Regions from separate parts of the Homo sapiens genome. Here regions 2, 3, 4, 5, 6 and 7 are each linked to region 1. Evidence: promoter capture Hi-C in 16 types of primary human blood cells and fetal thymus (Javierre and others, 2016). All regions are on one chromosome and are shown on one strand. The core of a region is centred on a gene start or on the middle of the fragment in contact, and the rest is flanking DNA. Distances in the headings are between cores, read along the strand shown.

The links. Contacts are between HindIII fragments. The CHiCAGO score rates a contact against its expected background, and 5 or more counts as called.
Region 2: a contact is called between the fragment with the promoter of GAST here and the fragment with the promoter of KRT28 in region 1, in 1 of 17 cell types (naive CD8 T cells). The highest score is 5.3, in naive CD8 T cells.
Region 3: a fragment that was not itself captured here is called in contact with the fragment with the promoter of KRT28 in region 1 in 5 of 17 cell types (naive CD8 T cells, non-activated CD4 T cells, naive CD4 T cells and 2 more); the score reaches 9.2 in naive CD8 T cells.
Region 4: a contact is called between a fragment that was not itself captured here and the fragment with the promoter of KRT28 in region 1, in 16 of 17 cell types (M0 macrophages, non-activated CD4 T cells, naive CD4 T cells and 13 more). The highest score is 33.3, in M0 macrophages.
Region 5: a contact is called between a fragment that was not itself captured here and the fragment with the promoter of KRT28 in region 1, in 13 of 17 cell types (M0 macrophages, non-activated CD4 T cells, naive CD4 T cells and 10 more). The highest score is 11.5, in M0 macrophages.
Region 6: a fragment that was not itself captured here is called in contact with the fragment with the promoter of KRT28 in region 1 in 7 of 17 cell types (M2 macrophages, M1 macrophages, M0 macrophages and 4 more); the score reaches 11.6 in M2 macrophages.
Region 7: a contact is called between a fragment that was not itself captured here and the fragment with the promoter of KRT28 in region 1, in 17 of 17 cell types (M2 macrophages, M0 macrophages, M1 macrophages and 14 more). The highest score is 25.7, in M2 macrophages.

What each region holds. Positions count from the first base shown.
Region 1 is chr17:40,798,594-40,801,500 of GRCh38, forward strand. KRT28 (keratin 28) reads right to left here and starts at 1,366. Exons shown (of 8, transcript NM_181535.3): 1 at 851-1,366; 2 at 324-406. The coding sequence starts at 1,300. LOC105371776 (a long non-coding RNA gene) reads left to right here and starts at 2,741. Exons shown (of 4, transcript XR_934753.2): 1 at 2,741-2,907. RefSeq lists an enhancer at 1-544. The HindIII fragment of the contact is 3,919 bases long and covers 1-2,907 here.
Region 2 is chr17:41,710,836-41,713,742 of GRCh38, forward strand. It overlaps GAST (gastrin), which reads left to right and starts at 1,496. Exons shown (of 3, transcript NM_000805.5): 1 at 1,496-1,552. The HindIII fragment of the contact is 7,695 bases long and covers 1-2,907 here.
Region 3 is chr17:41,693,548-41,696,454 of GRCh38, forward strand. No RefSeq gene overlaps it. Among named protein-coding and RNA genes, the nearest start is that of EIF1, 6.1 kb to the left of the region's middle. The HindIII fragment of the contact is 4,888 bases long and covers 1-2,907 here.
Region 4 is chr17:41,654,294-41,657,200 of GRCh38, forward strand. It overlaps LOC124904004 (a long non-coding RNA gene), which reads right to left and starts at 841. Exons shown (of 2, transcript XR_007065756.1): 1 at 1-841. RefSeq lists an enhancer at 1-652. The HindIII fragment of the contact is 2,956 bases long and covers 1-2,868 here.
Region 5 is chr17:41,635,401-41,638,307 of GRCh38, forward strand. It overlaps the pseudogene KRT42P. Among named protein-coding and RNA genes, the nearest start is that of KRT17, 12 kb to the left of the region's middle. The HindIII fragment of the contact is 742 bases long and covers 1,010-1,751 here.
Region 6 is chr17:41,560,607-41,563,513 of GRCh38, forward strand. No RefSeq gene overlaps it. Among named protein-coding and RNA genes, the nearest start is that of LINC00974, 7.6 kb to the left of the region's middle. The HindIII fragment of the contact is 7,476 bases long and covers 1-2,907 here.
Region 7 is chr17:41,544,421-41,547,327 of GRCh38, forward strand. No RefSeq gene overlaps it. Among named protein-coding and RNA genes, the nearest start is that of LINC00974, 8.6 kb to the right of the region's middle. The HindIII fragment of the contact is 7,630 bases long and covers 1-2,907 here.

The sequences.
Region 1 (2,907 bases), core at 116-2,615:
CAATAGCATAACCTAGTTAAATAAAAATACACCATTTTGGAATTTTATTTTAGTTAACGTTTTTCCTTAGTTGACTAATGATTTACTGAGCATCTACTTTGTGCTTGGCAGTATTCTAGGCAGGCAGAGAAATATATTGATATTTTGTCCCAGGAATATAATAACTATGTATAAGTTGATTGTAACATTATAATACAAATCCTTTGCTTCCTTTTATCTTTTAGGTGATAGTTCATTCTACTTGGGATGAAATAGAAATTTTATTTAACAAATTAAATAAATAGAAACTTTTTTCTAGAGCAGGATTTTCTTCTGTCACTTACTTTAGCCTGAAATCATCAGCAGCCAGTCTGGCATTATCAATCTGCAGAATGACATTAGCATTAGTAGTAGTGGAGGAGATAATCTAGAATAAACCAAAACAGAGAACACAACAAGTAAGTATGCTTTTATGTGATTCATTATTTCAGGAAATGAAAAAGGTTACTCAAGTTTTTGCATAAAAATTTCACCTCCTTATGTAATAATCAAAATGTTTCAAGTTTAACTTTTAAAAATTAAAGACATGGTTTTATTTATTCTCATATATTCCCCTAAATTTAGAACTACAATACTTTTTTATTCATATGCCTATGAATGTACTTCAACATAAACAATGGAACTAATAACATTTTAACTACATTAAAATTCATGAATCAAAGGGCCCATTTTTGAATAGTAGGAAGAATTGTTTATCTAAATAAATAAATACAAGTTATAACAGTCATGAAGCATTTCTTATTGTATGTCTTTTGTTAGGTATTTCTTAGTTTTAAATACTTGGGTTAGTTCCAAATCTGTGATTTCTCACCTTATTCTTAAGATCCTCAATTGTTAGGTGATATCTGCTATAGTCATGATCAAGTCCACGGCAAGATCCAGGTCCGTATTTTTCATACCAACCCTTGATTTTTCTCTCTAATTCAGCATTTGCCTCCTCCAGAGCTCGCACATTATCCAGGTAGGATGCCAAGCGGTCATTAAGATTTTGCATGGTCACCTTCTCATTTCCAGAGAGGAGTCCCCCTTCGCTTCCAGCAAAGCCAATACAAGCAGCATTTCCAAGGGCACCACCAGCATGGCTCCCACCAGGAACACTGCCCAAGCCCCCTCCCAAGGCACAGGAAAATTCACTTCCAGCAACAGAGCCACCACATGCACTGCTGCCTGCAAAGCCTGCACCTCCATTGAGGGGTCTGACAGATCCAGCTCCAGACCTTAAGCAAACATGCCTGGATCCATTAGAAAATTGGAGAGACATGGTGTTTTGAGAAATGTTCACCTTGTCTATGCAAAACTGTAATGTCCCAAGAGAACAGAATATCATGCACTGATAATTTCTTTGGGTTTTTATATATCATTATTGGGGCGTTCCTATTTGAGTTATACATGCCAAAAGCAAAATGGCATCACTTAGATTAGCATAAAATTATGTATAATTGGGTGATTTTAAAAATAATTAATGTCTAACATCCCTCGGTGTTGCTTTGGGCTATTTCTTATCTTAAATATAATAGGGTTTGTTCTATATTAAGTTTATTAATTTAACTTCTAATTTTGAGTGAGTAATCCTTTCCTTTCATCTAGACCCTAGGCATATACTGTCATTATCTGGCGCCAGGTATTATCAAATTTTTTATAAAGTTAAGTAAGATTATGATAGAGTTCTGTGAGGTACAGTAGGGTCTCAATTACCATGGAGGGGTATAAAGGACTGCTAATTACAGAAACAGATATTTTATCCCACCAGAAAAAAATGTGTTATTTAGAAAACAGAGGCTAGTGACATCTCTGTTCTTACCATGATTATAACATCTATTTATTATCTTGGACAATGACACAAATATTGACCTATTATTTTGTTTAAAATAGCATGGTTATGATGTTTGGTGCTCTATGCTAAGTGCTAAAATGAAAGACATAGTGTTAACTAAATGCAGAAGTGAAAAATGCGTGATTACAATCTTTAAGAAATCTATTGTCAGGTCCAGACAGGGGCTGGATCATGGTTAGCTTTCTGTGCTGGTCTAAAGAGTTTGTAATGAATCCTAAGTAAAAAGCAGAGGGCAAAATGATCAGGTTGAAATGAAACAAGGTGGTCAATTACAAGGTTGGAATAATGGTCCAGGTGAGAAGGATGAAGGCAGTGGGGATGCAGAGAAGATGGCTTTGAGAGCATATGGTAATATGATTGAATTTGGAGAGTAGGGAATAAGGCAGAATTGGGGATAACTCTTAGGTAATTAATTTTAGATTCTGGGAACTCATAATATTCACTGAGATGGGGAATAGAGGAGGAGGAAGACACTGAGTTTAGGTTTGGACCAACTGGATTTGAGGGGTTGCCAGAATGTTCCAGATGAAGGTGACTGATAGCAAGAATGACTGTTTAGAATATGTATACTGAACTGGAAAAATACTTGACTAGCAATGAGTAAAAGAAAATTGGAGGGTCCAGCTCTCATTTATAATGATGTTCAACTGCATATTTGGAAGTAATCCTGGTGCAGGAATAGAAAGGATGATGATCAGATTGATGTGGGTTTTGGGATTTGAAGACAGGTCCAGAAGAAGGAAATAGTGGCAAAGAAATTTCTGGTGTTCTTGAGAAAACAATTGAGGCGATTGACTGTATGATCATATAGCAAGAAGAAAGTAAAACCAGAGGGACAGATGGACTGAAGAAAAGGGCAGAGGGTGAGTCATTGGGTATCCTTATGAGGTCATGGAGCAGGCGGAGTGTGAGGAGGAGATTGATAAAGGTGAAGGATGACAGGCTAAAATTGGATAGTGGAAACCAGAATTTAGAATTTTAAAGTAGGCACAACTCCAGGTGTCACCAAAGTCCACAGAGTAGTCATGGGAGTG
Region 2 (2,907 bases), core at 246-2,745, 910 kb after region 1:
GCTCTAGATGAGAGTGGTTATTCACAACGGTTATTCAGCCGTCAGTTGCCATGGACACCGCACAGCCTGCTTCCTTCATCACCCATTAATTCTCAGCAAGGCTGGCTGTAAGCATGGGTACCACTGCAGTTACCCAATACCCAAGGGGATCAAACTCTCCCAGAAAAGGTGGGGGCCCAATGACGCATGAACAGGAGCAAAATCTCTGCTCTCAACAGTGGAAAAGTAAAAAACAGCCTACGGCTCATTACATCTGGTCAAACCATGTGGAGGCAGCAGTTTATCAAATAAGTCAACAAGGTACCATTTTGTTTTCTGGTCCATCTTTGGCAAATGCTTTAGTCTGTTTGCTAACCATTTGAAGGTATATTTTGATACTGAAAAGTTGTTGGCTGGGCATGGTGGCTCACGTCTGTAATCCCAGAACTTTGGCAGACTAAGCTGGGCCGATCATGAGGTCAGGAGTTCGAGACCAGCCCGCCCAACACGATGAAACCCCATCTCTACTAAAAATACAAAAAATTAGCCAGGCGTGGGGGCGTGCGCCTGTAATCCCAGCTACTAGGGAGGTTGAGGCAGAAGAATCGCTTGAACCCAGGAGGCGGAGGTTCCAGTGAGCCGAGATCACACCACTGCACTCCTGCACTCCAGCCTGGTGACAGAACTAGACTTTGTCTCAAAAAAAAAAAAAAGTTGTTATGCAGATTACTAGCTCCCCTTGAAAGCAAAATGAAGGAGGCTTCAAAGGCAGGACCCTCCAGGAATTGGTTCTGCATAGGGGGTTTGCAAGTGGTGGTGCATGGGCAGCTGACCTAGAAGACACGGGGCAGCTACAAGCCAAACCCAGCCCAGCACAGAGGGCCTAAGGAGAAGAAGGCACCAAGGGTGTTCCATGGTAGGGGGAGGGTGAAAGGACTTCAGAGGTGACCAGGATGTGAGCCACTAGAAGGAGAGAACAGGGCCATCAGCCCACAACCCATTGCTCCTGGTAACACGTTATGTTTGCAGAGTCCAGTGGAGGGGACGGGGAATCAATACATCACCCCACATTCACACGCTTGCCAAACATCAGTGGATGGCGAAATCCACTTTCCCTGAATCTAAGCCCATCGGGTTCACTCCCTCACCTACCACCACCCACAAAGGTCCCTATGTAGTTCGAGAGATAAGTGCCAGGCCTCTGACCCCCAGGATATGGTGGGAAGCATTGCTCCTGACCCAGGGAGCTTGGTTCCTGCCCCTCAGGTACAGCTGGAGAGCTGCCGCCACCCCGCTCCAGCCCCTCACCATGAAGGTCAACTCCCCTATCCTTCCCCCACATCCTGGATGACTGACTGACACTAAATGAAAGGGCGGGGCAGGGTGATGGGCTGTACCTGTGCCCCACCCCATTCCTCTCGCCTGGACTCATATGGCAGGGTAGGGGCGGGGTGGGGGGACAGTTGGGAGGGACCTTGAGGGCTTTATAAGGCAGGCCTGGAGCATCAAGCAGAGCAGAGACCTGAGAGGCACCAGGCCCAGCCGTGGCACCACACACCTCCCAGCTCTGCAGGTGAGAAAACCCAGGAGGAGAGGGGAGAGGCTAGGAAGTGGGTTGACAGGTCCTCTCCCCCATCAAGGTACCAGGCCACTGGCCAGAGTCTGGGGCTCACCCCTTGGGGTCTCCAGAGCTGGGACCCTTTCTTTATCCCAGGATGGAACTAGGTCTTGGCTCCAGTACCTACCCTGGTATTCCCAACCTTGCCTTCCACCTGCCCTTCTGCCGCAGCCGGGGCCCTGCCCTTAGCCTATCCCTTCACACTCTTCCCAGCCCTGGGAGGTGAGGAGGACTGGGGTTCTTCTCCTTTCTCTCAGACAAGAAAACTGAGGCCCAGAGGCAAGATGTGACTTGCCCAAAGTCACAGGGATTATTAGGCAAGGCTGGGATAGGAATCCACAGCTCCTGGATCCCACTTCAAGCCCTTTCCTAGACCAGTGCCATCCAAAAGAACGTCCTATGATGCAGGAAATGGTCTTCATCTGCACTGTTCAATATGGTAGCCACTAGCCACGTGTGCGCTTGAAATGGGGTTAGTGTAAGGAAGTTTTTGTTGTTGTTGTTGTTTGTTTTTTTATATAGAGTCTCGCCGTGTCACCCAGGCTGGAGTGCAGTGACATGCAACCTCTGCCTCCCAGGTTCAAGCAATTCTCCTGACTCAGCCTCCCGAGTAGCCGGGATTACAGGCGCCTGCCACAACACCCAGCTAATTTTTCATATTTTTGGTAGAGACAGAGTTTCACCATGTTGGCCAGGCTGGTCACAAACTCCTGACCTCAAGTGATCCAACCCCCTCAGCCTCCCAAAGTGCTGGGATTACAGGCGTGAGCCACTGCACCTGACCATAATTTTTTAATTTAATTAATTTAAATGTAAAGAGCCACATGTGGCTGGTGGCTATAGCACTGAACAACACATGTGGTTAGCATCTGACAATACAGCTCCAGATCACTGATTTTTCAAACATTTCTTCAGCAGCAGAATTCTTTTCTTCCAAAGAAAACCTAACAGAAAACCTGATTATGAAAAACTTAATGGCCAGGCACCGTGGCTCATGCCTGTGATCACAACACTTTGGGAGGCTGAAGCAAGCAGATTGCTTGAGCTCAGGAGTTCCAGACCAGCCTGGGCAACATAGTGAGACCTCATCTCTACTAAAAATAAAAACAAAAAAATTAGCTGGGCATAGTAGTGCACACTTGTAGTCCCAACTACTCAGGAGGCTGAGGTGGGAGGATCTCTTGAGCCCAAGAGGTCGAGGCTGCAGCGAGTCAGGATCACGCCAGCCACTGCATTCCAGCCTGGGAGACAGAGCAAGATTCTGTCTCACAAAAAGAAAAGAAAAAAAGAAAAACTTAAAAGCAGTACAG
Region 3 (2,907 bases), core at 254-2,753, 900 kb after region 1:
GCCCAGGAAGCCAAGGCTATAGTTAGCTGTGATCATGTCACTGCCACTGTACTCCAGCCTGGGTGACAGAGTCTCCAAAAAAAAAAAAAAAAAAGCGCCCCACCTCCCAATAACTGTTCAATTGGCAATTAAATTTCAACATGGGTTTTGGTTTGGGTGGAGCATTCAAACTATAGCAATGATTCTAACCCCAGCATCAGGAGCTTGTCGTGTTAAAGGTCCTACAAAACCAGTCTGTTTCATGAACACAAAATAATTTAGCCTTGGAGCCAACCAAGGCTCCAAATACAGTGGCATTGTTCAAAATATTTGAGTGAATTTTTTTTTTTTTTGAGATGGAGTCTTGCTCTGTTGCCCAGACTGGAGTGCAATGGCACGGTCTCGCCTCACTACAGTTTCTGCCTCCCAGGTTCGAGCGATTCTCCTGCCTCAGCCTCCCGAGTAGCTGGGACTACAGGCACGTGCCACCACGACTGGCTAATTTTTGTATTTTTAGTAGAGACAGGGTTTCACCATGTTGGCCAGGATGGTCCCGATCTCCTTGACCTTGTGATCCGCCTGCCTCAGCCTCCCAAAGTGCTGGGATTACAGGCATGAGCACCGTGCCTGGCTGGGTGAGACTTTTAAATCAGTAAGATTTGACTGTAATGTAGGAGGTTTTTTCTTGGAGGAACTTCTAGAGCAAGGCGGGAGGCCAAACACACAAAATACTACAATCAGGATGAAACAGCAAGAGAAGAGAATTCCTTCTATGCTGTAGGTTGTGAACACGGCCAGGTTCTGTGCTAGGCTGTTCCATCTCATGCTTTTTAAGGACCTCCAATTCTCTAGGATGGGATTATTCCAAGTTAAACCATCAACATCTATTAAATCAGCTCTGTGAAGCCAAGCGAAACAAGTATCTGTGAACACAGAACTGAGGAAGTTGGTGAACACCCTTATCCACCTGATGTAACCTATCTCAGGCTGAATGAAGAAAAGTATAATTAAAAAGTCATGATGGGCCGGGCGCGGTGGCTCACATCTGTAATCCTAGCACTTTGGGAGGCCAAGACAGGCGGATTGCCTGAGCTCAGGAGTTCGAGACCAGCCTGGGCAACAACGGTGAAACCCTGTCTCTACTAAAATACAAAAAATTAGCCGGGCATGGCGGCGTGCGCCTGTAGTCCCAGGTGGGAGGCTGAGGCAGGACAATCGCTTGAACCCAGGAGGCAGAGGTTGCAGTGAGCCAAGATTGCGCCACTGCACTCCAGCCTGGGCAACAGAGCGAGACTCCGTCTCCAAAAAAAAAAAAGAAGGCATGATGGCTGGTTATGGTGGCTCATGCCTGTAATCCCAGCACTTTGAGAGACCAAGGCAGGCAGATTGCTTGAGTCCAGGACTTCGAGACCAGCCTGGGCAACATGACTAAACCCTGTCTCTACAAAAAATACAAAAATTAGCCAGGCGTGGTGTTGCATGCCTATGCTCCCAGCTACTGGGGAGGCCAAGGTGGGAAAATGGCTTGAGCCCAGGAGGCAGAGGTCGCAGTGCGCCAAGATGGCACCACTGCACTCCAACCTGGGTGACAGAGATAGACACTGTCTCAAAAAAAGAAAACAATGTGATGTGGACATTCCCAAGGTAAGTTGTGGAGCCTCATCTAGAACCCAGGACTCCCTGTGTACCCCTCCTCCCACCAGCTGCACCTGTACATTCACAATTTCTGTAACTCATTTTCCCGGTGGAGTGGGAGCAGAAATAAATAAATAAATGCTCATCTTACAGAGATTGTTGAGTGCTTGGTATCTGTAGTACACTACAGGGCATGTCAGGCAGACCCCCTGCACTCAGGGAGCTGACTGCCTGGTAGGTAGATGTAAGACCAGCACACAGCCTTGACGCAGGACAGAAAGGGACCCAAAGAGCCACAGGATCTCTGAGGACTGCGAAATCTTCCCCACTCCCATCCTCAGCCAAGGGGGCCAAGAAGGCTTCATAAAGGAGGTGCTGTCTGAAGCCAAGCATTTCGAGCAGAGAAAAAGAGTCACACCCAGAGGTGAAAAGGCACCTGGAAGCCGGCGCAGTGGCTCACGCCTGTAATCCCAGCACTTAGGGAGGCCAAGGCCAGCAGATCACTTGAGGTCAGGAGTTCGAGGCCAGCCTGGTCAACATGGCGAAATCCCATTTCTACTAAAAATACAAAAATTAGCTGGGCGTGGTGGCGGGCGAGATCGTGCCACTGCACTCCAGCCTGGGCAACAGAGCGAGACTGCGTCTCAAAAACAAAAACAACAACAAAAAAAAGAAAGATTGATTATGCTGAAAAGGTCCCTCAGCTCTCTGCTCCTTAGTCCTCCTCTCCCACCCCAAACCCCCCCAGCCCTCCTGCCCCCATCCCCACACGCTGCAACAGCTACACGCAAGGACAAACTGAGTGTTTCTTAAGATGGTGTTATGAAGACAAAATGAAAACTGGTCAGCTAAAACTGCATAAGAAGCTACAAAACAACTTTAGAACCTATTCCAATTGCTGTCAACTCTATGAATAAGCCAGAAAAACACATAGCATATTTGGAGAACTGAACATGACCCCCTTCCTGGTTTATCAGCCTCGATGGTGCCCCCTTGTGGCAGTAGTGTAAAAACACAGTTTACTGTGCACAAGGCTTTACAATTTTTCAATTAAGAGCTCCTTGACCAATTTTTAACTTTTTTTTTGGTGGGGGGACAGAGTCTCACTCTGTTTCCCAGGCTGGAGTGCAGTGGGGTCTCCTGCTAGGCACCATGCACCCTTGTTGCCCCCTCCTGCTCAAGCCTCTCATTTCTTCCACTCTCTAAATGCAAGCGTTCCCAAGGGATTGTCCTGACTGTCCTTCCCTCTCCCTTGGTGGTCTCACCCTATATCATGGCTTTGTTTGTCTTCAG
Region 4 (2,907 bases), core at 141-2,640, 860 kb after region 1:
AGACGCACCCTGCAAGTGAGGAATGCGGACGCCGCCCGGGCTGGCCCTGGGAAAGCTGCTGCCCTCGGCTCCTGCCCAGCCCTGACTCAGCCTAGGTGGGCCAGGGAAGCTGCAGCCTCAGCAGAACCAAGTCTCCCACCCCACCCTCCCCGCTGGCCTGCCTGGGATTGAACCAGGGGACAGGTCCTGGCAGGGGACTGAGAGTAGAGACAGCACCCCCTGGCCTCAGGACTTGGGGGAACAGCAGGGACTCTGTGGGACCTGCCCTTCTCCTGCACTGTCTGGAGGGTGCCAGCACAGCTCTGTCCGGGGGGGCTGCCCACAGCACATTTTCCCAGATGCCTGAGCCTCAGTTTCCTCATCCGTAAAAGGGGGCTAGTGACATTCCTGCCCACAGTGCAGGGCTGCAGTGGTGGAGGAGGTTCCCGGGAAGCATTTGAGAAGCAAACAGACCTCTTCCTAAGAAACAGAAGCGTCTGCCTAACCCCATGAGGCCAGGTGATCCCGTGCTCCATGCAGAAGAAACAGAAGCGTCTGCCCAGCCCCGTGAGGCCGGGTGGTCCCGTGCTCCATGCAGAGCAGGGTGACTCCATCATCCTCTGTCCCTGGCCCCAATACGGTTATTCCAAACTCCCCAGGACAAGGGCTGTGTCTCCCCCTCCGACTAGGCGGTCCCTGAAGGCTCGGGGCATGTCTCCCCTCAGACAAGAGGCTTCCCAGGGACAGAAACTCCATCCTCCTTGCTCCATCGCCCCACAGTCCCATGCCCTGCACTGCGGAAACCACAGGCCAGTGAAGGCCAGAAAAACTGCCCGTCCCCTCCTGGCGCCACCTTACCCCAGCCTCCCCAGGCCCTGACATCCACCTCCTTGCCCACCCAGCCAGCCCCCAAACGCGACGCTGGAGTGCCTCACGGTGCCCACCCAGACCCTGGGGATCAGGAGGCAGAGCCCCCCAGGTCTGGCGCTGGTAGAATCTCCCATCCCTCCCTGCCTGCAAAGAAAGGGCCCACTGGCCTCCCTCCCTGAGCCCTCCCACAGCTGGGCTGGCCAGAGAGAACTTTCTCCCTCTGCTCTCTTTCTCTGCTGTAGTTCAAGCACAGACCCTCTCACCCCAGCCAGCCCTTCTCCACCTTCCGGGCGCACAGTCTTAGGGGTGGAGCAGAGGCTGAGGTTGGGGGCCTCACAGTCAAAGGTGCTGAGACAACAGCCCCGCTGCCCTGTGCTCACTCAGAAGCTCCTGGGGAACTGGAGTGGAGGGGAAGGGTCCCCAAGCCCACAGGTTCTGGCTGCCCCTGCCACGTCCCCTCCCCCAGCCAGGCTTCTCCCAACTGCGGCAGGGCGTCTGGGCTCAGGTTGGGGTGCAGCGTTGGCAGGACAAACAGTCTCCAGTGTTGGGTGTTTGCCTCGGTTACCAAGGAGGGAGGTGAGGGGCCTGGCTCCCTGCCATGTTTGGGCCCCGGGCTGAAGGTGTGGGTGGCAGGGAAGGTGGAGGATTTGAGGTGGGGAGGCTCACTTCCCGCTCCCAGGGCTCGAGGGCAGGGCAAGCCAGCTGGGACTGCCAGATCCCTGGGCGGATTCAGACCTGCATCGGCCCTGCCTTTCTGCTGGCTCTGGGAAACTCAGTCAGGCAGGAGGAGACGCTGGGGGCGGGGCAGCCTCCCTTGCTGCTCAAAGCAGGGCTGTGGGCTGGAGGCTGGGCCCCGGCAAGTCAGGTACTGCCGTGGGTGTCCCAACCTTCCGGGACTGACGGCACCACGGCCTAACTCAGGCCGCCCGGGAGAGAGGCCTAGGAGCCCAGCTCTGGGCCCATGAATTTGGACAAGTCACCGCCCCTCTCTGGGCCCCAGTTTCCCCACCTATATAGTGTCAGGAGCTGGCCTGTGTAGTCCCACAGGGGCCTCCTTTGTTTTGTCCTCCCTGTCATGAGCTGGGCAGGTGGATGCTGAGGGGTTGAGGAGTTGGGCACTGAGCCGGGAGTTGTGACCCGGCCTTGAAGCCCTGGCTGGAAGGGCTCAGTACACATCCAGGCGGCCCTACTGCCCTGTCTGAGGCTGGCATGCAGTGAGTGCCCGGCTGAGTGCAGGAGCCCAGGGCTGTGGTCAGGAATGGCCGGGCCCTTTCTCCCTCTCTCAGCAATGATGAGAGCCACAGCCCAAGGAATCCCCTGCTGCCTCCTGCTCCCAGGTCTCCATCGCAGCCTCAGCATGACCGGCTCTGAGCAGGAAGTAGGGGAAGCAGGACAGAGGCTGGCCTGGCAGTCAGAGAGTGCACAGCCTGGCTCAGGAGGCTGGCAGGTCATCAGGGGCATAGAGCTGGCCCTCGTTGATGGGGCAGGGATGGCTTGGGGAGGGTGGAGACGCCGAGGCTTGAATTAGGGGGTGGGGGGTGCAGGTAGGGAAGAAAGGAAGAGGACTTGAGATTGTGACCAGGCAGTGCCACAAGGAACACAGGAGTGTGGGCCTTCCATGGGGAGGGAGGAAGGTGAGGCCAAAAGATGGCGGGGCAGGGGAAGGGACCACTTGCCTTGCAGCCCGGCCAGAGAGAGCGAGAATGAGCAGTTCCCACACCATGAAGACCTTTGCCCTGGCCCTGCTGGTGGCCCTGCTGTGCACAGAGAGACCCCAAGGTCTATGCTGCCACCAGTGCTTGGTGGCCCCAGCCTGGCACAGGCATGCCTGCCCCGCTGCCACATGCCCCTTCCCTGACAGGGTCTGCGTCTCGGGATATGAGAGACACAGGGAGTCTGGGTCCCTGTGGCATCTGGGAAAGTGAGAGTGGGGAACAGGCTCTGCCTCCTTTCCCTCCTGCCCCAAGAATGATACCATCATTTGGAATGTGGAGGTTCTGGACACCTCTATGAGTTCCAAGCTTTCTTGTTGCAAGAGAGGCCTCTGTAATGCGGGGG
Region 5 (2,907 bases), core at 131-2,630, 840 kb after region 1:
CCCTGCAAAAGAGCAGCATGATCCGCAGGCTGGTGGCTGGCACCGCTCCACCCAACAAGGAGATTAGTATCCTAATCTCCGCGGCACTAATGATTTAGGTGCTGCCAGGACACCGGCGTCTGCACCAGGCCTGTCTGAATGTGGAGCTTCCCAGGGCAGCCAGGGCCCGCGGAACAGGAGAGGGGAGAGAAGTGCATGGGTGGCCTGGGCTCTCTGCCCGCATACGGGGACAGGGAGGGAGTTGGGTTTTCCATGTGGCCCAGAGCTCCCAGATGAGACCACACTGCTGGAAAGACTTCCTGCTCAGATAGTGGGTGGTCTCTCACGGAAAGTGCCAGCTGGGGACTGTGCCAGCTGGGAATGGCAGGAGCTATCTGGAAGAGAGCGGTTGAGCCCTGATTTTACTGCTCCCGCCCAGCCTGTGAAGGTGCTGGGCGGGGATGGGGGGAGGTTCAAAACCAAGGCTAGAGAGCAAGGTCAGACCACCATGAGCACGAGGTTAGACATCTGGAAGGACTTCCTGGCAATCCAGGACTGTCTTCGGGGAGGAGAGAGACCCAGTAAAACCCGTGCTCACCTGAGCCGCCAGAGTCAAGACTGCACCAGCAGGCACTCACACACGAAGAGACACGAAACCAAGACCCTCCCCATCCCCATCCTCTCCTAACAACCCCTCCCTTCCCAGGCCCCATCCTCCCCTAGGCCAGCTGGGCTACCCAGGTGGGCCTCACTCTGGGCTCACAAAAGGGACTGCCCCGCCTTCCAGCAGCAAATGTGGGGCAAAGCCAGGGCCCTAGGGAGGGGGCCAGGTCGTGGGGTGCCACCACCCCTCTGCCTCCCCGTAGAGCCCACACCGCCAGTGCTCACCCTGCCTGGGAACCCCACTTCCAGAGTACCCAGACCTTAGTCTTGAGGCCCAATTTGAAGGAGCAGAGAGTTTATTACTCTTCTTTCTGCCTCTAAAATCACCAAGGCCTCCAACCCCCAATACCACCATTTAGCCCCCACAAGCTTCCTCACCCCTGACAGGCTTTGGGCCGCGAGCCTGCTCCTCTTCCTCTCTGGGCCTCAGTTTCCCCACGCCACTGACCCCCCCCCCAGGCCCCTTTGCTACTGCTCGTTAGAGGCTCTACTGCCTGTGAATCCCCCTCTAGCCCCCAACCCAGAGAAGCCTCACATGCTGAGGACAGGCCGGGCCAGCTGGGCCAGCCGGGCAGGAGGGCACAGCTCAGATCTCAGCAGAGATAGAAGTGGGACCCCAGGAAGGCCTCCCTGGCCCTCCAGAGCGTGGGGCCACTCCCTGGCCAGGGCTAGGAAAATGCAAACATTCCTCCTGAGACCCTCACAACAGTGCCTTGAGGACACCAAGACACAGGGTGCTTGAGCAGCGGGCAGTCGGGCAACCCAATGTTGGCATCAGAGCCGGGCCTGAAGCCAGGGCCTCGGCAGCTCCCACTCTCCCAGCCAGGGAGGAAGGCTTGACAGGGGCCGGCTGGAGGGCCACACAGAGGTCCTCTGGGCTGTGGCACATCCTGTCTGGGCCTGTCCTCCACCCCCAGCAGGGAGAGATCCCTGGCACCCGCAAGGGGCAGCCCAGGCCTGCAGCCCCGGCAGCGGCAGCAGCTTGGCCCCCATGGAAGACAAAGGGGTAAAGAAGGAGAGGTCCAATGGCTCTTCCAGCCCCAGAGGCTGCTGGAGCCCAGCGCAGGTGGGAGAGGGGGAGGCCCAGGGAGGTGGCTGGGAGAACTTGAAGCTTCCCCCAGTGCCCTGGGTGCCAGCCCCACCTTGACTCCCCCTCAGTCTCCTCTGCAGAGAGTGCAGAAAAGCCAGCATGCTGGAGAGCGCAGCACAGACAGGACCTGCCTGGAATTTGAGCAGAGCTAGGGTTTGGGGACAGTGTCCCCTAATATCACCCCTACTATGTTGTGGGGAGGCAGAGGGCGTAGAATGATCTGGGGCCCTATGGAAAGGAGATGTTCAATAGATGCATTTTTTTTTACTTTAAATAGAGATGGGGTCTCACTATATTACCCAGGCTGGTCTCAGGCTCCTGGGCTCAAGCAGTCCTCCTGCCTCTGCCTCCCAAAGTGCTGGGATTATAGGAGTGAGTCACCACGCCCAGCCAATAGATGCATATTGATATTGACAAGGTTGACAAGGTCTGGACAGGATCAGTGGCTCACACCTGTAATCCCAACACTTTGGGAGGCCGAGGCAGGCAGATCACTTGAGGTCAGGAATTTGAGACCAGCCTGGCCAACATGGTGAAACCCCGACTCTACTGAAAATACAAAAATAAGCCAGGCGTGGTAGTACCTGTAATCCCAGGTAGTCAGGAGGCTGAGGCAGGAGAATCGCTTGAACCCGGGAGGTGGAGGTTGCAGTGAGCTGAGATCGTCCCACAGCCCTCCAGCCTGGGCAACAGAGCGAGGCTCCATCTCAAAAAAACAAAAGAAAAAACAAAAAGACAAGGTCATGCCCCGTCTGCCCAGCTGGCCTTGGCTCCTACGAGCCCCCGCAAGGATTAACTGTCAACCCTTAGGATGGTGCCCACCCCATACCCCACACCCCTGCCCAGAACCAGCGCGGGCTGTATGCAGCAGGTGCTCTGTGAGTGCTTGCTGAATTGTTAGGGTCATGGAGCCTGAGCAGTGACTGGGGAGGAGACAAGGTCCCAGGAAAGGGACATGGCCACCTACCCTTCCCCTCAAGGAAAAGGGTCAGTATCAGGTGGTCAGGGAAAGTGAGAGGCCCTGGAGCCCAGAACGGGCTCCCAGCTGAGACCTTGGCTTCGCTGATGAGGAGAGAACCCCAGAGACCCTCATTCCACCCCTAGTCCCCTGTCACTAAGACCCACTGGGGTCCTTTCCATTCACCCCTCAGACACAGAGCCCCTGTCACCTGCAG
Region 6 (2,907 bases), core at 260-2,759, 760 kb after region 1:
CTCTGCTTTGTCATTTGGAGGGTTCTGGAAAAATCACCCTAGATTCTGTTTCTCCAGCCCTCCTAATGATTCTCTAAGGTATCTAGAGCTCTTGAAAATCCCTTACTTGTTAAAATAGGCAAAGTAGTTTCTGGTAGTTGCAATTGAGAATCTAACCAATATAGAGATCAGATGACAAATGGAGTTTTAGCCCAAGTTTGCTTCTCATGAGCCCAGTGGTATCCCAGACCAATCCTGTGGTTATTTCCCAGTGTCTGGAGTGGACTAGACATAGTCAGTAAAAGGATCCTGATCCTTACCAGTAAGGATTACGTGGTTTAGAAAAAGGACCAGCAACACTACATCTCTAAGGGAATGACAGAGATTAGTGCCACATGAAAGATTTGATGGGCCAGGAGTGGTGGCTCATGCCTGTAATCCCTGCACTTTGGAAGGGCAAGATGGGGAGAGAACACAGGAATGTAAGATCAGCCCTGGCAATAGAGTGAGATCCCTGTCTCTAGTTTAAAAAAAAAAAAAAAAAAAAAAAAAACCTCAAAAATTAGTCTGGCGTGGTGGCACACGCTTGTAGTCCCAGCTACTTGGGAGCCTGAGGTAGGAGGATTGCTTGAACCTGGGAGGTCAAGGCTTCAGTGAACTGTGATTGTACCACTGCCCACCGGCCTGGGCAACAGAGAGAGACCCTGTCTCAAAAAAAAAATGATAAATTTAGGGTTAACTTGCCTAGTTTTTCTGTGCAGAACATGAACAGATGTTAGAGAATAGCCATGAATTATTTTACAATTTATCACATGGTTGTTCCAACAGCAGTCGTTGATCCAGATTGTGTCCCTTTTCTAAAGCAGATCACCATTGACCCTGGCACCTGCTGTGGGAAATTCTTTTTTCTTTATCCCAATAAACAAAGAGTACCAGAATAAATATGCTTTCACCTGCAGAGAAAGCAACACGGTCATTCCCCTTATCCATGGTTTCGCTTTCCACAGCTTCAGTTACCTGTGGTCAACTGTCATCCAAAAATATTAAATGGAAAATTCCAGAAATAAACAATTTGTCAGTTTTGAAGTGTGCTGCCCTGAAGAGCATGATGAAATCTCACACTGCCCCACTCTGTCCAGCCCAGGACAGGAATCATCCCTTTGTCCAGCTCTCCATGCTCTATGCACCACCCACCCACTAGTCGTCGCTTAGTAGCTGTCTCAGTTGTCAGATCAACTGTTGCAGTATTGCCGTGCTTGTGTTCCCTTATTTTACTTAATTACGACCCCAAAGTGCAAGAGCAGTGATGCTGATAATTCAGATTTGCCAAAGGGAAGCCACAAAGTGCTTTTTTTTTTTTCTTAAAAGGAGTTTTGCTCTTGTTTCCCAGGCTGGAGCACAATGGCGTGATCTCGGTTTACCTCAACCTCTGCCTCCCGGGTTCAAGCGATTCTCCTGCCTCAGCCTCCCAAGTACCTGAGATTACAGGCATGCGCCACCATGCCTGGCTAATTTTGTATTTTTGGAAGAGACAGTGTTTCTCCATACTGGTCAGGCTGGTCTCAAACTCCTGACCTCAGGTGATCCTCCAGCCTTGGCCTCCCAAAGTGCTGGGATCACAGGCATGAGCCACCGCGCCCAGCCAGCAAAATGCTTTCTTTAAGAGAAAAGATGACAGTTCAAAACTTACTACGGAAAGAAAAAAACCATACGCTGAGGTTGCTAAGATCTACAGTATGATAAGATATTTTGAAAGAGAGAGACCACATTCAAATAATTTTTATTACAGTATATTGTTATAACGATTCTATTTTATTAGTTATTGTTGTTAATCTCTTGGTCTGCCTAATTTATAAAGTAAACTGTATCTTAAGTATGAATGTGTAGGAAAAAGCATAGTGTAGATAGATTTAGGTGCTATCCACAGTTTTGGGCATCCAGTCAGGATCTTTGAATGTATTCCCTGTGAAATAATGAGCAACTACTGGGCATCTTTTCCAGGATGTGCAGAGAATCAAACTTGGAGGGTATGCAAACAGAAAAATTCCCCAAATCACACTCAAGGATTGCTCTAGGAACACACCACTGCTGTCACTTCTGGCCACCAAAATTGAAGCTCAAACTATGGATGATGGGCACTGCATGTCTTTGCCAGAGCCGCTGCTATTGCTTCCTCAAAAAATCACATATCTCTGCCCAACCTTGTTCCTGCCATAAAAAATTCCACTCAGCACCTCCTTTAAATCAAAATCAAAGTCCTTCACTCCAATGGGGTGCCATGGTTAAAAAAAAAAAAAAAACGTCTTGTGCGGGCGCACCTGAGTGGCAGGGCTGTCAGGGGCCCATGCCCTAGATGCAGGTGAGCTCGGAAAAGCAAGTTTCTGACCTCTCCCTTGGGGAGCTTCACACTTAAGGTGGAGAATTTCCCAAATTGAGGTAGAGAAAAGATACATAAAATGGGCCAGGCCTTGTGGCTCACACCTGTAATCCCAGCACTTTGGGAGGCCGAGGCAAGTGGATCACCTGAGATCAAGAGTTCAAGACCAGTCTGGCCAACATGGTGAAACCCCCGTCTTTACTAAAAATACAAAAATTAGCTCAGCGTGGTGGCAGGTGCCTGTAGTTCCAGCTACTCAGGAGACTGAGGCAGAAAATCGCTTGAACCCGGGAGGTAGAGGTTGGATTGAGCTGAGATCGTGCCACTGCATTTCAGCCTGGACGACAGAGTGAGACTCCGTCTCAAAAAATAATAATAATAATAAATAAAATAAATAAAAAGATATGTAAAATGGTAGATGAGGAAGACAGCAGGTAGCAGAAAAAGAACCAGAGAAGAGTAAACAGTTGCATATTAACAGCGGAGCGCTAGAAAAGAGATCACAGACTCTCACTGCTCAGGTGTCTTGCTAGAGCCACCTTTGACCCAGA
Region 7 (2,907 bases), core at 246-2,745, 750 kb after region 1:
TCTGGATCTACTGGCTGCCGATGGGCACTCTGAGCAGTTTCTTGCTTTTCCCAAAGCCATGCCCAGGAAACACCATTCATTCCCTCATTCACTCGTGTGCTGTGCGTGGGCTCTGAGCCAGGCCCTATGCCACATGCAGAATTCAGAGACGAAACAGACTCAGGCCCAGCCCCCAACAAGCTCCCAGCAGATGGGAGAGGGGAGAATGGGGGAGGGAAAGATCTACACAAATAGCTACAAAAGAGAGGCCCAGCAGTATAGCGTAGCAGGCAAGATTAATCAGTGACCATGTAGCAAGGCAGTGACAGGCCTGGCCTTTGAAAAGAGCCACGCCTTGGGGTGAGAGCCACTCATTAGCCAGGCCCAGGTATTCACCTCCCTAAGCTCCAGTTTCCTCCCCTATAAAACATGGACCATAATCACACCAGTGTGGCATGTGGTTTAGAGCCCAGGCCTTGGAGCCAGGGTGGCCTGGGTTTGATTCACAGAGCCACCATTTTATTTCAAAGCCATGTCATGCAACGGCCGTTACCTCACCTGTCAGAACCTCAGTGTCCCCGCCTCTGAAATGAGGCTAATAACACCAACCTCAGAGGGCTTGTGGGGGAATAAATGAAAAATCAGGTGTGAAGCACAGTATCTGGCACTCCATAAAATCAAGAGCTATTACCAGCAACATGAAGGTTAAATGGCATGTGTCAGTCATCACCGCAGGGGACAACCACTCAGCAGGTGTGGGCTGGGAGGAGCTTTCTGTTCTGTTTTTTGGGTTTTTTGTTTGTTGAGATGGGGTCTTGCTCTGTCACCCAGGGTAGAGTGCAGTGGCGCAATCCTAGCTCATTGCAGCCTCAAACTCCTGGGCTCAAGTGATCCTCCTGCCTCAGCCTCCTCAGTAGCTAGGGCTACAAACATGCACTACCATGCCTGGGCCAATTTTTTTTTTAAGAGACCTGTTCTTGCTATGTTGCCCAGGCTGGTCTTGAACTCCTGGGCTTAAGCAATCTGCCTGCCTCGGCCTCCCAAAGTGCTGAGGTTACAGGTATGAGCCACCATACCTGGCCAGGTATGGGTTTTTATAAAAGATTTTGTGAGAGGATAGGCACAGTGGCTCACACCTATAATCTCAGCACTTTGGGAGGTCGAGGCAGGTAGACTGCTTGAGTCCAAGAGTTCAAGATCAGCCTAGGTAACATCTCTACAAAAAATGATCAGGGCATGGTGGTATGTGCCTGTAGTTCCAGCTACTCGGGAGGCTGAGGTGGAAGGATTACCTGAGCCCAGGAGGTTGAGGCTGCAGTGAGCCATGATCACACCACTGCACTCCAGCCTGGGTGACAGAGTGAGACCTTGTCTCAAAAAAAAAAAAAAAGATTTTTGTGGGAGTCGCTCACTGCTCCCTGTGCGGTGGGGTGGAGGGAAGGGGAAAGTGTTCTTCCAAAAAGCTGAGATTTGAAGAATGAGGAGTGGGAAGAAAAGGGCTCGGGTGGTGGGTGTTTCTGGCACAGGGAAAGCTGTGGGAAATGGCCTGGCCAGGTGAGACAATGCGGGGAGTTCAGGGAGGGAGCAGTTCAGTGTGTTGGAGGCGTAACACTGGGAGAGTTGGAGGCCTGGAGGCTGGGGAAGGCAGGGGAGGGGACAAGTGCTGCCTGCGGGCCTGTTGGCAGTGGGGGTGTGGGTGGATAAGAGACGGGCCAATGGAGGGCCTCACGGAGGGGACAACTGCGAGGGTCCGACTCACCATGCAGGTCCTGAATAAAGCCGTGCTGGGCCTGGAGAAGTGTGGGTCGGGGAGGGATGGACACTGAACAGCAAGGCTCACCTCACATCCAGGAGGCCCCCCGCCAGCCCCGCCATGCCACAGGCACTGACGGTTGCCACTAAGCCTCAGAGGCCAACTGCATTTATTTGGAAATGGAGCAAGGCACTGGCCATGTCCAGGCTGGCTTTCCAGCCCTGTCCCCCAAAATCACAGTCTTCCTGCAATTACTCACAGGTGCTGGCCAATAGTGCTTAGGTTCTCAAATGCCTGCTTCTACTCAGGCTATCCTATCCACCTGCAGGGTCCTTCCCCTCAGCCGTCACAGGTTGAAACTGTGCCTCTTCACCATTGCCTGGAGTAGACAGAATAATGGCCCTCCAAAGATACGCCAATCGGAACCTGTGAGCATGTACCTTCCATGGCAGAAAGAGACTTTGCAGATGTGATTACATTAAGGATCTTGGAATGGGGGTTGGGTTATCCTGGATTATCCGATTGAGTCCAAAGTAATCACAAGGGTCCTTGTAAGAGAGAGGCGAGATGGTCAAGGTCACAGAGAGGAGCTGGGACCATGGAAGCAGAGGTCAAAGTGAGGCACTTTGAAGGAGGAAGATCCCACAAGCCAAGGAAGGCAGGCAGCCCCTGGAGGCTGGAAGAGGCCAGGAGACAGACTCTCCCGTAGAGCCCCTAGAAAAAAAGCATTTCTGATGACACCTTGATTTTAGCCCATAAGGCCCATTTCAGATTTCTGACTTCCAGGCCTAGAAGATAGTAAGTTTGTGTTGTTTTAAGCCACTGAGTTTGCCACCACTTGTTACAGCAGCAACGTGGAACTCATACATCACCTCTTCCTTCAGGCCTTTGTGATCCCTGGCACTCGCTCTTCCTCCTCTGAGCCCCTCTGGTGCTTTACCTGACCCTCTCCCAGGCACTGTCCTCTTCCTATATGGGTGAGAATTCATTGGCTCTTATCCCCTCTACCAGCCAGTGAGCTCCTTGAGGCTGGGGTCTGGCTCATATTTGTGCCCCCTTGCCCAACCACTGGTTGGGCTGATAATTCTCCCTGGATCCTTAGATCTACTCTCCACCTTCCTCTGTCCTGCTCTGTACCTGGAAGGATGATCCCTGTGTCACTGGCTCCCTTCCCT